Regions from separate parts of the Homo sapiens genome. Here all the other regions are linked to region 1. The links are contacts of gene promoters, found by promoter capture Hi-C in blood cells and fetal thymus (Javierre and others, 2016). All regions are on one chromosome and are shown on one strand. The core of a region is centred on a gene start or on the middle of the fragment in contact, and the rest is flanking DNA. Distances in the headings are between cores, read along the strand shown.

Evidence for each region. Contacts are between HindIII fragments. The CHiCAGO score rates a contact against its expected background, and 5 or more counts as called.
Region 2: a contact is called between a fragment that was not itself captured here and the fragment with the promoter of C8orf88 in region 1, in 4 of 17 cell types (naive B cells, total B cells, total CD8 T cells and 1 more). The highest score is 8.8, in naive B cells.
Region 3: a fragment that was not itself captured here is called in contact with the fragment with the promoter of C8orf88 in region 1 in 6 of 17 cell types (fetal thymus, megakaryocytes, erythroblasts and 3 more); the score reaches 11.0 in fetal thymus.

Annotation. Positions count from the first base shown.
Region 1 is chr8:90,983,094-90,986,859 of GRCh38, reverse strand. C8orf88 (chromosome 8 open reading frame 88) reads left to right here and starts at 1,622. Exons shown (of 6, transcript NM_001190972.2): 1 at 1,622-1,746. RefSeq lists a silencer at 1,439-1,598. The HindIII fragment of the contact is 2,363 bases long and covers 1-2,345 here.
Region 2 is chr8:90,624,756-90,628,521 of GRCh38, reverse strand. It overlaps TMEM64 (transmembrane protein 64), which reads left to right. Exons shown (of 3, transcript NM_001008495.4): 3 at 2,660-3,766. The coding sequence ends at 2,851. Among named protein-coding and RNA genes, the nearest start is that of TMEM64, 19 kb to the left of the region's middle. The HindIII fragment of the contact is 413 bases long and covers 1,954-2,366 here.
Region 3 is chr8:90,641,211-90,644,976 of GRCh38, reverse strand. The region is part of intron 1 of TMEM64 (transmembrane protein 64); the gene reads left to right. Among named protein-coding and RNA genes, the nearest start is that of TMEM64, 3.0 kb to the left of the region's middle. The HindIII fragment of the contact is 2,145 bases long and covers 225-2,369 here.

The DNA.
Region 1 (3,766 bases), core at 373-2,872:
TTCACAATTTGTTATTGGTAATAATGCCAATTTTTAGTATTGCTAAATTTGGGGAAACTCATCTTAAGGTTCTTAGGTGAACTCTGTGATTTCAGGGCACTTCAAGTTTTCTCAGGCAGTGACTAACCTTTAAGTTGCTAAAAGTCATTAACCTGTTTGTTGTCAAGTTCTTGTTGTAAAGGTATGAATTCTAGATTATCCTTGTAGATGCCAAAATTTTATGTCATTATCAATAAGATTTTGAAAAGTTTCGATATGTTTATATGGTTCATTTTTCTTCCTCAATTATCAAAAAATCAAGGAGTCTGTCTAGTCTAATTTCTCTCTTCCTCTCAATAAATTACTAATACTGATCTGAATTGGAATTCTTCCAATTTACATTTTTGTCACAATAGTTTCTACTGACTTCATACAGTGATATGCACAAAATAATTTTATTGTAAGATGTATATAAAATTATACATGCTTCATTGTTAAGTATATTCCTGAAGAAGAAAACTTCTGTTGTGACTAGATGGATGAGAACCACATCCTGCACTTAAGATTTTCTACATCTGGTGGTTGGAATATATTGATTCCACTGTGCAGACTTCTGGTGCCTCACCCCAAGGGATGCCCTTTTATCATGACCCATCTCTGACCCTGGACCCTAGGTCTCTGATGCCAGGCGAGTTGTCTCAGTGGATAGTAGGAGTGTTTCTGGAAGCCATTTCTAAACGGAGACAGCTCCAATAACTTGACTATACATGGAAGTGCTTGTGAAACTTCATACCTTCCAAAATGGTAAATCCTGATAGTGCCCCACTTAAAACCGTTCAGTGTTTGCCAGTGCATTTTCAACTGTCCTTTTGGTGCTTGGGGACGTGAGGGACTGCCACCTCCACGTCCCTCAGTACAAGCAGACAGTCCCCCTCTGGGGACACTCAAAGATAATGAAAAATTAGCAAAAGGATTGAAGGTGAAGATTAAAAAGAAATGATTCGGATGGAGTTGCCTTAATTCATTTTGTTCCTTTCAGGATGGCAGTCTGTGTGAAACGCTGTATCCCTGGTCTGAGGTAAACCAGGTCTCAAACATCTTCCTCCCTGCCAACCCGAATCCCGACACCCACTAAATGCACCAAGGGGAAAGCAGCGCCTGCCAGCAGCTCTGACGGGGGACAGGAGTAGGGTGGACTCAGTCGTCAGCACGACGGCGGCCTCCCTCACAGAGGCGGCCTCCCTCACAGACGCTGCCTGGAACCCGCCGCCAAGCCCCCAGCAGGCGGCCCGCCTGGCGCCTCCCAGTCTTCGCACAAGCAGGGCCACGGTCTGGGGCCCCCAAGGCCGTTCACGCGGGCGCGCCCCGTCGAGGGCTAGCCTGTCAGCGCCTCACTCGCGGCCTCCTACCCTAGACGACCGGCTCTGGGTGGCGCCGCTCCAACCCCACGCGCCCAGCTCGCCCGGGAAAGCGCGCGCCACCCTTTTAACGGTTCTACCCCGGCAGGGGTGCGGCTGCTCTCGAGGCTCAGCGCCCGAGGCCACGCCCCGCGCCCGCCCTGGGCCCGCCTCGTGCCCCTCGGAGCCGCCTCCCGCCCCGCCCCCCGCCCCTCGCCCCCCGCCCCTCGCCCCCCGCCGCCGCCACCGCGGTCAGCCAGCGGACCAGCGGCAGGAGCCGTTCCCCGACGGGCAGCAGGGCGCTCGGCCTCCGCGTGTGGGCTGAGCGCGGCGACGCTGCTGCCCCGAAATCCCCGTGGATTTTGAGTCGGTAAGTGGCTAGGGAGGATGAGCGACACTGGGGGACGGAAGTCGGGCCCCGTGGTGTGGAGGAGGCGGGTGGGCGCCGTCTCCCAGGCCCGACCCCGGGAAAGTTGAGGCGAGGAAGAGAAGCTCTGAGGTGGGTCGGGAAATCTCTCAGGGCCCCTTCAGTACCCTGTGGACCCTGAATGGGAGTGGGATGGGAGCGAGAGCGTCGGATGAGGGGAAAGAAAGTGTAGGGGGCCAGGGGAGCCCGACGGAGGGGCAAGTGGCCGAGACCAAAGCCATCGCCAAAAAAGGAGCTAAGTACACAGCTCCCCTTGGCTCTGCCCCAGCACCTGGTGCCAGGCGGTGGGAGGCTTTCAAGACGATTTGCCCCCTCCACCCGGTGGCACAAGGTTTTCATTGCTGGTGTTTTAGTCAAAGCTACGGAAAGGACAGTTACATGACTAAAGTAATCACAGACACCTATTACCTGGACAGCTTTAGCCCATCCGAATGTTAAATTGTGTTTTGTTTTGAGAAATCCCTCAAATAGACCAAAAAAAAAATTAAATTAGTTATAAAGAGAAGGCATGAAATGGAAGATATGTTGGAACTCTCCAAGCTTCTAGTTTTTTGATATTTTCGTTTTAATTTTTCCTTAATAGTGCAACCAGATATATGGAACGTGAAATGTCTTTCACCACTTGAGTCATAGGTGGTTTATTTCTTACTCCCCGATGTTTCCTGTATGTTTCTCTTCATCTATCATTTTGTCAGTGTGAGCAGTTTACTTACAAGCAGTATTGGGTTTCAAGGAATCCTAACTTTGTAATGTTTTGAAGTTGGAAATTGAGATGAAATTTTATCTGGTTATCATATGGGAATTATACACAAGGTAAATTCAAATATGGTCTTTTCATTTCATTATTTCACTTTATATGATCTTATTTCTCAACGGCAGCGGTAGCATCAGTACTTTCCAAAGAAGACTAGAATTTATATTGGAGTTTAAGTATAGTACTCAGCTTCTAAAAACAGTGCATAGTATATTTCATATGCTGTGATCTATGGTTAGTATGGCAGTATACCATGTCTGTAGCGTGAGGAAAGCACAGTACTCCCTAATTTATTTAGTATTCTAAGAAAAATGGTAAATTGAAGAAATGGATATTATTAGCATATACCAATTTATTCTGCATGGCCTTATAAATAAATGTTACTTTTCACATTAATTTTTAAATCTATACACGCAGTGTCCACATGTAATAAATGGACAGTCAGATATCTTTCTTTTATGTAACAAATAGGCAAGTTTTGATATAAAGGTGTGAACTTTGTAGTCAAATCCTAATATCTAGCACTTAGTAGCTATGTGGACTTGGGCATGTCTCTTATTTTTCTGAGCCTCAGGTTTCTTATCTGTGAAGTGGGACTAATAATAATTTTCTTCCACCGTTCATATATGGCTCAAAATTAAATGAAATTATATTTAGTATGTAGTAGGACCTTAAAAAGGCATCTTAATTAAAAAATAAGATTAATAAGATTTTGGCCAAAGTGGTCAATGTATCTGCTTATTATCCCATTGTATTTTAGACAATTCTAGGTTTACTGGTAATATCAGGACTGATAAGGCCTGAAGATTCATACTTAGGTAAATTTTTTAAAAAGAAAAGGAACCTAAGATATAGTTAGTATTGCCAGGTGTAGAATAGCAACTGTAAATAACTAACTGATTTACCAATATTCTATTCATACAACTTGGTCTTTAAAGATGATTTGTTAAGTGTGTGTGATCTTGAAAAAAACTATTCAGCAACCATTTCTCAGTATGTATTAATAGAAAGTTTTTTTGGAGACATTGGATCAAAATATCCTTTAAAAAACATTTATACCACAAAACTATACATTTACATTTTTAAATTTACATTTTACAACCTTATGATAGGCCCACTACTTGCTACCCAATGTTGTAGGCAGAATTCTGTTTATTTTGTAACTGTGCTTTGAATCGTTGATATGATACATGGCTACTCTAGGTAGCA
Region 2 (3,766 bases), core at 911-3,410, 360 kb after region 1:
CCTAGTTTCTCGACACTGCCCCACATCCCATCTCTCTCCTTTGTCTTCTCACTCCCCTGCTGTTGTCTTGAAATAGTTAATTATTTTAAACTATCTTCACTTCTCCTCACAATTTTGACTCCTTCGCCTGTTTCCATCTTTATTGTCAGCAGATTACCTCTCTTGCTTAACAGAAAAATCAGAAGCCTTCAACTGAGAAACCCCTGAATTTGCATATAAGAAATCTGTTAACTTCTTATGTTCCTGCCCCTGCTTAGCTTGCTTTCCAGTTAGCATTAAGAGATGCCTGTCTTTCTGTATGAGGCTTGACCTTCTGCCTGTGTTTGATTCTTTGATTTCATTTTAATAAGGAAACTTTTAAAACAATTGTCTGTACTATCTATTTCCATTTTCTAAACCCTTTTTAACACTTCACTCAGCTAAGGAAGATGGGGAAGGTGTGTTGGGGGACAGTACAAATCGTCAGGCCCTGGGATCAGAAGTGCAGCTGGGAAAGTCCCACTTAAAGATGTAACCATTTCACCCTTGCTATCTGTGGCCCTGCCACTTCCTTCCCTCAAACTGCTCTTCTTAGGGCTGTCAGTAAGCTTGTCTAAATGAGATGTACTTTCCATTTCTCATCTAGCTTGACCTGTTAGTAGTCTAAGACTCCTGACAGTGCCTTCATTATTAAAACACTCTTTCCTTAGTTTCTTTGATACCACTGTCTTAACTTTTTTTTTCCACTTGCCTAGCTTATGCTTAACTTCTTCCTTTCACCCCTTATATCTGTGTTTTTGAAGATCCTAGCTTAAGTTTTCTAGTCCTACTCTGAAAACTTTTTTACAGCAAATCCAGTTACTCTGATGGTTGCTAATATGTGTATTTGGGTCAAGACCCTCCGCCTGCCCTCATCCTACTCCCCAGCACTTGTCTTTAGCTCAGCCCTCTTTCCATAGCTTCAGACCCCTTCACTGACATCCATGAACTTTTTTGGATATCTAAGAGGCACCTCGAATTCAGCATGTCTTAAACAGAAGGTAGCATCTAATTCACAAAGCACCCGCCCCCGCCCCCATATTTTTTTCATCTCTTTACATGGTGTTTCCATTTGTTGATACATAGCAAACTTAGGAGTTTTCGGTAAATATATCTTGTTTCTTTTAAGAGAAGTAACAGAAAACAGTTACAGAATTTAAAGACCCAGCTTTAAGATGCCTAACTTATTTACGATTTTACTGAGTGATGGGTACTCATTTAATGGCACCCCCTTGTGCAAGTTCCAAGTTCCTCCCCTCTCACACTTACCATACCCCCAGTATGCTCTGCTTCTGTTATCTCCTCCCCCAACCACCCTCAGCACTTGGATTTAGAATACTTTCCCTTTAAAGCTTATGTTATAATTATGGGTAGATTTCATTGAAATTGTATTATATTTCCGTATCACTTTTGGTTACAGCAGCCTTTGTAAACTTGCTGGGACATTAAATAACACCTGCTGTGTTTGCTCCAAATCCTAAAGAACTGATTTACAAATGAACTTTGGAATAAAACTCATTTAGAAAATGTACACTGCTTAGACATTCTGAGGAGCTGTACATAGAATGCTAAAGTTGGCCGGGCACTGTGGCTCATGCCTGTAATCCCAGCACTTTGGGAGGCTGAGGCAGGCAGATCATGAGGTCAGGAGTTTGAGACCAGCCTGGCCAACATGGTAAAATCCCGTCTCTACTAAAAATACAAAAATTAGCCAGGCGTGGGGCGCATGCATGTAATCCCAGCTACTCAGGAGGCTGAGGCAGGAGAATCACTTGAACCCGGGAGGCATAAGTTGCAGTGAGCCGAGATTGTGCCACTGCACTGCAGCCTGGGCGACAGAGCGAGACTCCATCTCAAAAAAAAAAAAAAAAAAAGAAAGAAAAAAAAAGTACAGAGGGACCACAGCTTCCTATAGGACAATGAGAAACTGAAGCTTCCCTAAATCACACATCACTAGTGAATAGCTAAGCTAAGACTAGAAACCTGACTTTCAATTTGATCAGTGTGATGATTTTTCTAGTATCCCTTTGACTAACATTTTTAAATAATCATCATGTTTTCCTCTGATTTTGTTTTTTCCTAAGTACAGGCAATTACTTGTTCACAATCTCTTGTTAATTCTTTGGAAGTTTATTGGCATTTCATTTTTTTAAGTGGTCTGTAATACTTTTAATTTTGTCTTCACCAGGTAGTTCATTGCAAATAGTAGTGCTTCTCACTAAGTGGGCTTAGAAATACCTATGGACATTTATAGTCATGCAAAGGTATAATACTACATTAATTATACCAACAAAGTTTAGCCAGCTGTTACCTCTATTGTAGACATTTTTTATTCCTTGAAGAAAGCTTTTTGGTACAAAGAGACAGGTTTGGCTTGTATCAAGTGAACCAAAAGGAATGTGTGTTTTCCTAATACCATGTCATGGTTACCTGTAGACTTTGGTCCTCCACTACCAGGAGAAGCAGCAAAGGAAAGAATAAACAATAACTGTGTGTAAACTATTTAAAAATGTATAACCCTTTACCTACCATCTTTGAGAAGCACCCTGTTTGAAGCATTTCTAAGCCAAATATTTATTGGATTTATTTCTTTTTTTTGTATAAAATATTGATAACTGTAATGTTTTATTTTTATTCACAGATTATTATAAGTATAGGCCTCATGTTTTATGTAGTTCATCGAGCTCAAGTGGAATTGAATGCAGCTATTGTAGCTTGTGAAATGGAACTGAAATCTTCTCTGGTTAAAGGCAATCAACCAAATACCAGTGGCTCTTCATTCTACAACAAGAGGACCCTAACATTTTCTGGAGGTGGAATCAATGTTGTATGATTCTAATGAGATACGTGATTGTCAAGAGCCTAGTGTGCTATCTAAGGTCTAGCAGTCACTTCACTAGTGGGCAGAGACAAGTTCTAATTGTATTACAGCACAAACAAAACTGACTAGTTTTTAAATTGCACAATTTTTTTTTTTTAAAGCAAGAATCATTTTCTGGGTATGTAAGTGTAAATGTAGATGCAAATTTGGCTGCACCTCTTTATCATGCCTGTATTGGCCTATAGGTCTGCACTTTAGTGTTTTTTAATTGTTTTATTTCTGTGTATTTACGAACAGAGAAATAACCCAAATATTATTTCTGCTTAGTGTCTTTATTTATAAAGCCCATGAGTAGTTTGTATGCATCTTTCCTACTTGTAAAGATGAGTAAAAGTATGCAGTTTTAAATTTATAATATTATTGGATGTTCTTTGCTTTGGTAGTCTTTCCAGAAAGGATAAACAGTGGTTTTTGTTTTGTTTTGTTTTATTGTTTAAGTGGGACCACTTAGCTTCCCGTTTCCTTACTAGTTAAAGAACAGACATTAATTTTCAGTTGAATGTATTTTTGCAGGCATCATATTGTTACAGGGCCATTTACACCTATTCACAAAGCTTAAATCCTACCTTGTGGGACTGAAGTGCTCTTAATATAACTGTTTATTTTCACTGTGTAATATGCAAAGCAAAAGGGAAATTATTTGGTGGATGGTAGCTCAAAATTGGAACTCTTGTTCTAATTCAGTTACATTGGCTTTACCCTCCTTAGATTTTTCATCAAAGGGCTGTCCCATTGCAATCTTACTAAAACATTTTGTTAAAATAAACTCTTTTCCTTTTTATATTAATAATTAGGCTTTTAAATAAAGATGTTATTCCTTTAAAATGGTGGGCTTACCATCATTGAAGATGTCACTCAGGTGGCCTT
Region 3 (3,766 bases), core at 48-2,547, 340 kb after region 1:
CATCGCAGCCTGGGAAGTCTGTCCTACACATAAAACATACCTAACGCGGAGCCTCGAAAGAGAGTTTGTTAGATAAAAAACTAATGTTTCTTTTAGGGATGGGAATGTAATTAAAAATGAAAAGCCCTCTTAACAATAGGCATGCAGGGACATGAATGGAAATGCCCATCTTTAATACTTGTCATCTTTTGTAGCAGCTTTGGCAACATTTAGGGAGGAAAGCTTTCTCTCTTGCTTACATAAATACATCCAGGGTTTTGATTCAAGTTTTTAGCGACATGGACCAAAGGAAGTGTTTCAGTAAACAGTGGAGGAGCTAGTTGCAGACTCCAGATTTTGGAGTTTGCTAAATTTGAAATGGGCTTTTTCTTCTTCAAGTAATTGTGCTTTAATGTGATGTAAAGAAGAAAATCCTACTGTTTATCTTTCTTTCTTTGGAGGAACTTCATTTCGAAATCACGGGGTGGTGAATAAAACAGAACAGATAATCTTTTGCTCAGTTAGCATATATTTTTCTTCTGTATCTGCACCATTATAGACTCTTTTCTGTCCTTGTATTCATATGTTTTGCTTACTCAGGTTTCTATAGCTAGTGTGCATCTCCATGCAACTGATTTAGGATAGAAACACTGCTAGTGAAGAGATCATCTTATTGGAAGAAAGGAATCTGGTCTTTACAAACTTTGTGACTTTGGATCAAGTTACTGACCCTGTCTGGCTTCACTTTTCTCTTTTCGAAAGTGAAGGACTTAAAAAAGTAGATTACCATGTTCCCCAAATTCAGTGATTCTAAACTACCAAGAGTTTATGTAGATTCCCAGGAACTTAACCCTTCAGCTAGACTTAAAGAAAACTTACTGAAATAAAGAGATAATTGCATTCAAAACCATAGGAATTGATGTATTTTAAGTGATTCTGATGCATTATTTTGTTTCAAAACGTAAATTATTGTTAGTTTCTGGAAACTTTCTCATTTTGTTTTGAATTAGGAATAATACTAACCAATCTGCCTCTTTGTGATGAAATTAAAACCTTTCTCTTTTTTCTTTTCTTTTAAATGCCTTTTGCAAACCTCTTGATTCCAAGCAACAGCAGCAATGACTATGGAATGGTATTTGGTAGAGGCAGTGGAAACAGATAAGGGGTTTTCTGTAGAGATAAAGTTTAGTGTTAGCAGTAGTTTGGTATAGTCTTAGTCTTAAATTTCTTTTTCATACCCTCCTATAGTATGAAATATAAACTTGAACTTTGACCCAGTCTTGGGTAATAATAAATAAACTGTCCCAGGACTTTGAAAGAAGGTTGGGCTAAGGAACCTAAATAGATTGATTCTGTTAGTTTGTGTTTCAATATAGCATGTATCCTTGGGCCTTTTCTTGTCCATCTACCGTGTGCCAACTACTGTCCTCGGCTCTTTCCACATATTTCTGATCCTTAAACCAGCCCTGCAGAAGTTAATTATGCACATATTATAGACTAGTGTCTACTAGTTGGGAGCACAGGGCTGGTGTTGTGAAATCCTGCTGTCTGCTTAGAATCTAGTGACCTTGGGCAAGTTGTTTATTCTCTCTGGGCTTCAGTTTCTTATTTGTAAAATGAGGAAAGTAATGATACCTACTTCCATAGGATTATTGAGAAGATTACATGAGATGAATACATGCAGCAGAGCCTGGCTTAACAAACACGTGTTGGCTTTTGTCGTTTCTGTTGTTATGACCCAAGGTCACCAAGGTACTAAATTAATGGTAGAGTCAAACTTTGAACCATGGTCTGATGGCAGTGTCTCAACCAACCACCTCTTTATTTCTTGAATATATATTTAATGCCTGGTGTAGTCATGGGTAAATAGTAAGGGCTCATTATGTATTTATCGACTGACAATAAGGTAGGCTTTTCTTTTGATTTTGTCTCTTACATATTAAGTATATAACTAAGAGGTTGTATTTTGTGCTTGGTAATAATTTAAGGTAATCATGTAGTTGAAACTGAGCTTGACAAGGGACAAATCTCAATTTAGCATTGTGTGGTCAATAAAAAAGAAGGGAAAAAAAAGAAAAATGGCCTCTTGCAATAGGTATTATTGTCACCATTTCACTGAGAAGAAACAGAGGCTCAACCATCCAGGAACTTCTTCAGTCACCCACCTACCAAGTGGCTGAGCTAGGGTTTGAACCCAGGATCAGCTGATATGGTGCATCTTACTGTAAAATTTTGACTCAGCCATAGCAGGGTGGACTGTGAAGCCCCTGGATATGGTCTGTTATGTCCTGTTTATACCTATTGTTCTGAACTGCCTGCTTACAGAAGTAGTCCTTTCAACAAAAACAGTTTACTGAATTCAGCCAAGATATGTGAAAGAAAAGAAAGCTTAGTTAAGGCTGATGTTGGTTTTAGTCTGACTTGACTTTCTGCCTTCTAGAACTCCATTCTGCCTCCTCATGTATCCTCTCCACCTCATACCCCTCCTGCTGACCATAGCTGCCCCCTTTTCTAGGCATATTTCTTGTGTTTTCCACATCCCTCCCTATCTTTGAAATCATCCTTTTTTTTTTAAAGAAAAAAATTCCAGTTAAAACTCATTTTTTTTGTGTGCCCATAATTAGAGAAATTCATCTGGGCGTACCTCAAAGAAGTTAGGTGTAGTGGTCATGTGAGGCCCAGGCTTTGGAAATAGATGATCCTGAATTAGTCTGTGCCATCTGGCCTTCTCCATTTCCTCATCTGTAAAATAAAGTAGTTATGAGGCTTAAAAAAGCTGATACAGTGAAGGCATTAAGTATTTTGTCTGGCTCATAGTCACTTCCCAGTAATTGTTAAGTGTCATTATTGTTTGTAGTGGTGGAGGTAGTTGTATTCACATTTTAGAAGCAGGAGCTGATTGTAAAGGATAATATATGGAAGAAGGAAAGGTGCTTTCCCTTGCTTATCTCCTCTGAACCATTTTTTCCCCTTCTCCCATGCATGGTAGAAACTTGAAATGAGATTGGTTCCAACATTTACAGTGTCATCTTGAAGTAGTTATAGTTACTCTTTTGAGCTATACTTTCTGTTGTGGGATGTGTTTAATAATACCTGCTGCAAAGCTGTGATAAAATATATAGTTTGCTCATTATTTACTATTTCTTTCTCACCATCCTCTGCCTTCCAAAATAAGGACAGTGAAGTTGAGCTACTTTTTAAAAAAATTTAACAAATACCTACATTGTACTTAACTAATTCCTGGGCACTGTTTAATCATGCACACATAACTTATTTACTGTTCATTTCAGCCCTGATCCTCATCTTATAGCTGAAGCAGTTGAGGCACAGTGGTGAAATAACTTGCTCAAGATTACACAGTTAGTAAATGTTTAGAGTCATTAACTTATCCAGGCACTAGTGTTGGTCCAAGAAGAGCTGGATTTCCCAGACACATCCTGATTCCAGTTATAGAATACTTGTCTTAGAGCACCTTAAAGATCAGACATTATGGAGGACTGGGTAAGGTTCTATACAGTTGACTTAGGTATCATCCCAGATGTTAGAGCAGGGGTCAGAAAACCACAGCCCAATTTTGTATGGCATACAAGCTAAGATTGATTCTTCCATTTTTAAATGGTTGGAAAAAATACCACAAGAATATTTCATATACATGAGAATTATATGAAATTCAAACTTCAGCATCCGTAAATAGTGTTACTGGAATACAGCTGTGCTCATTTATGTGTGTGCTATGTGTGTCTCCTTTTAAGCCAAAACAGCAAATTGAGTAGTTACTACAGACCCT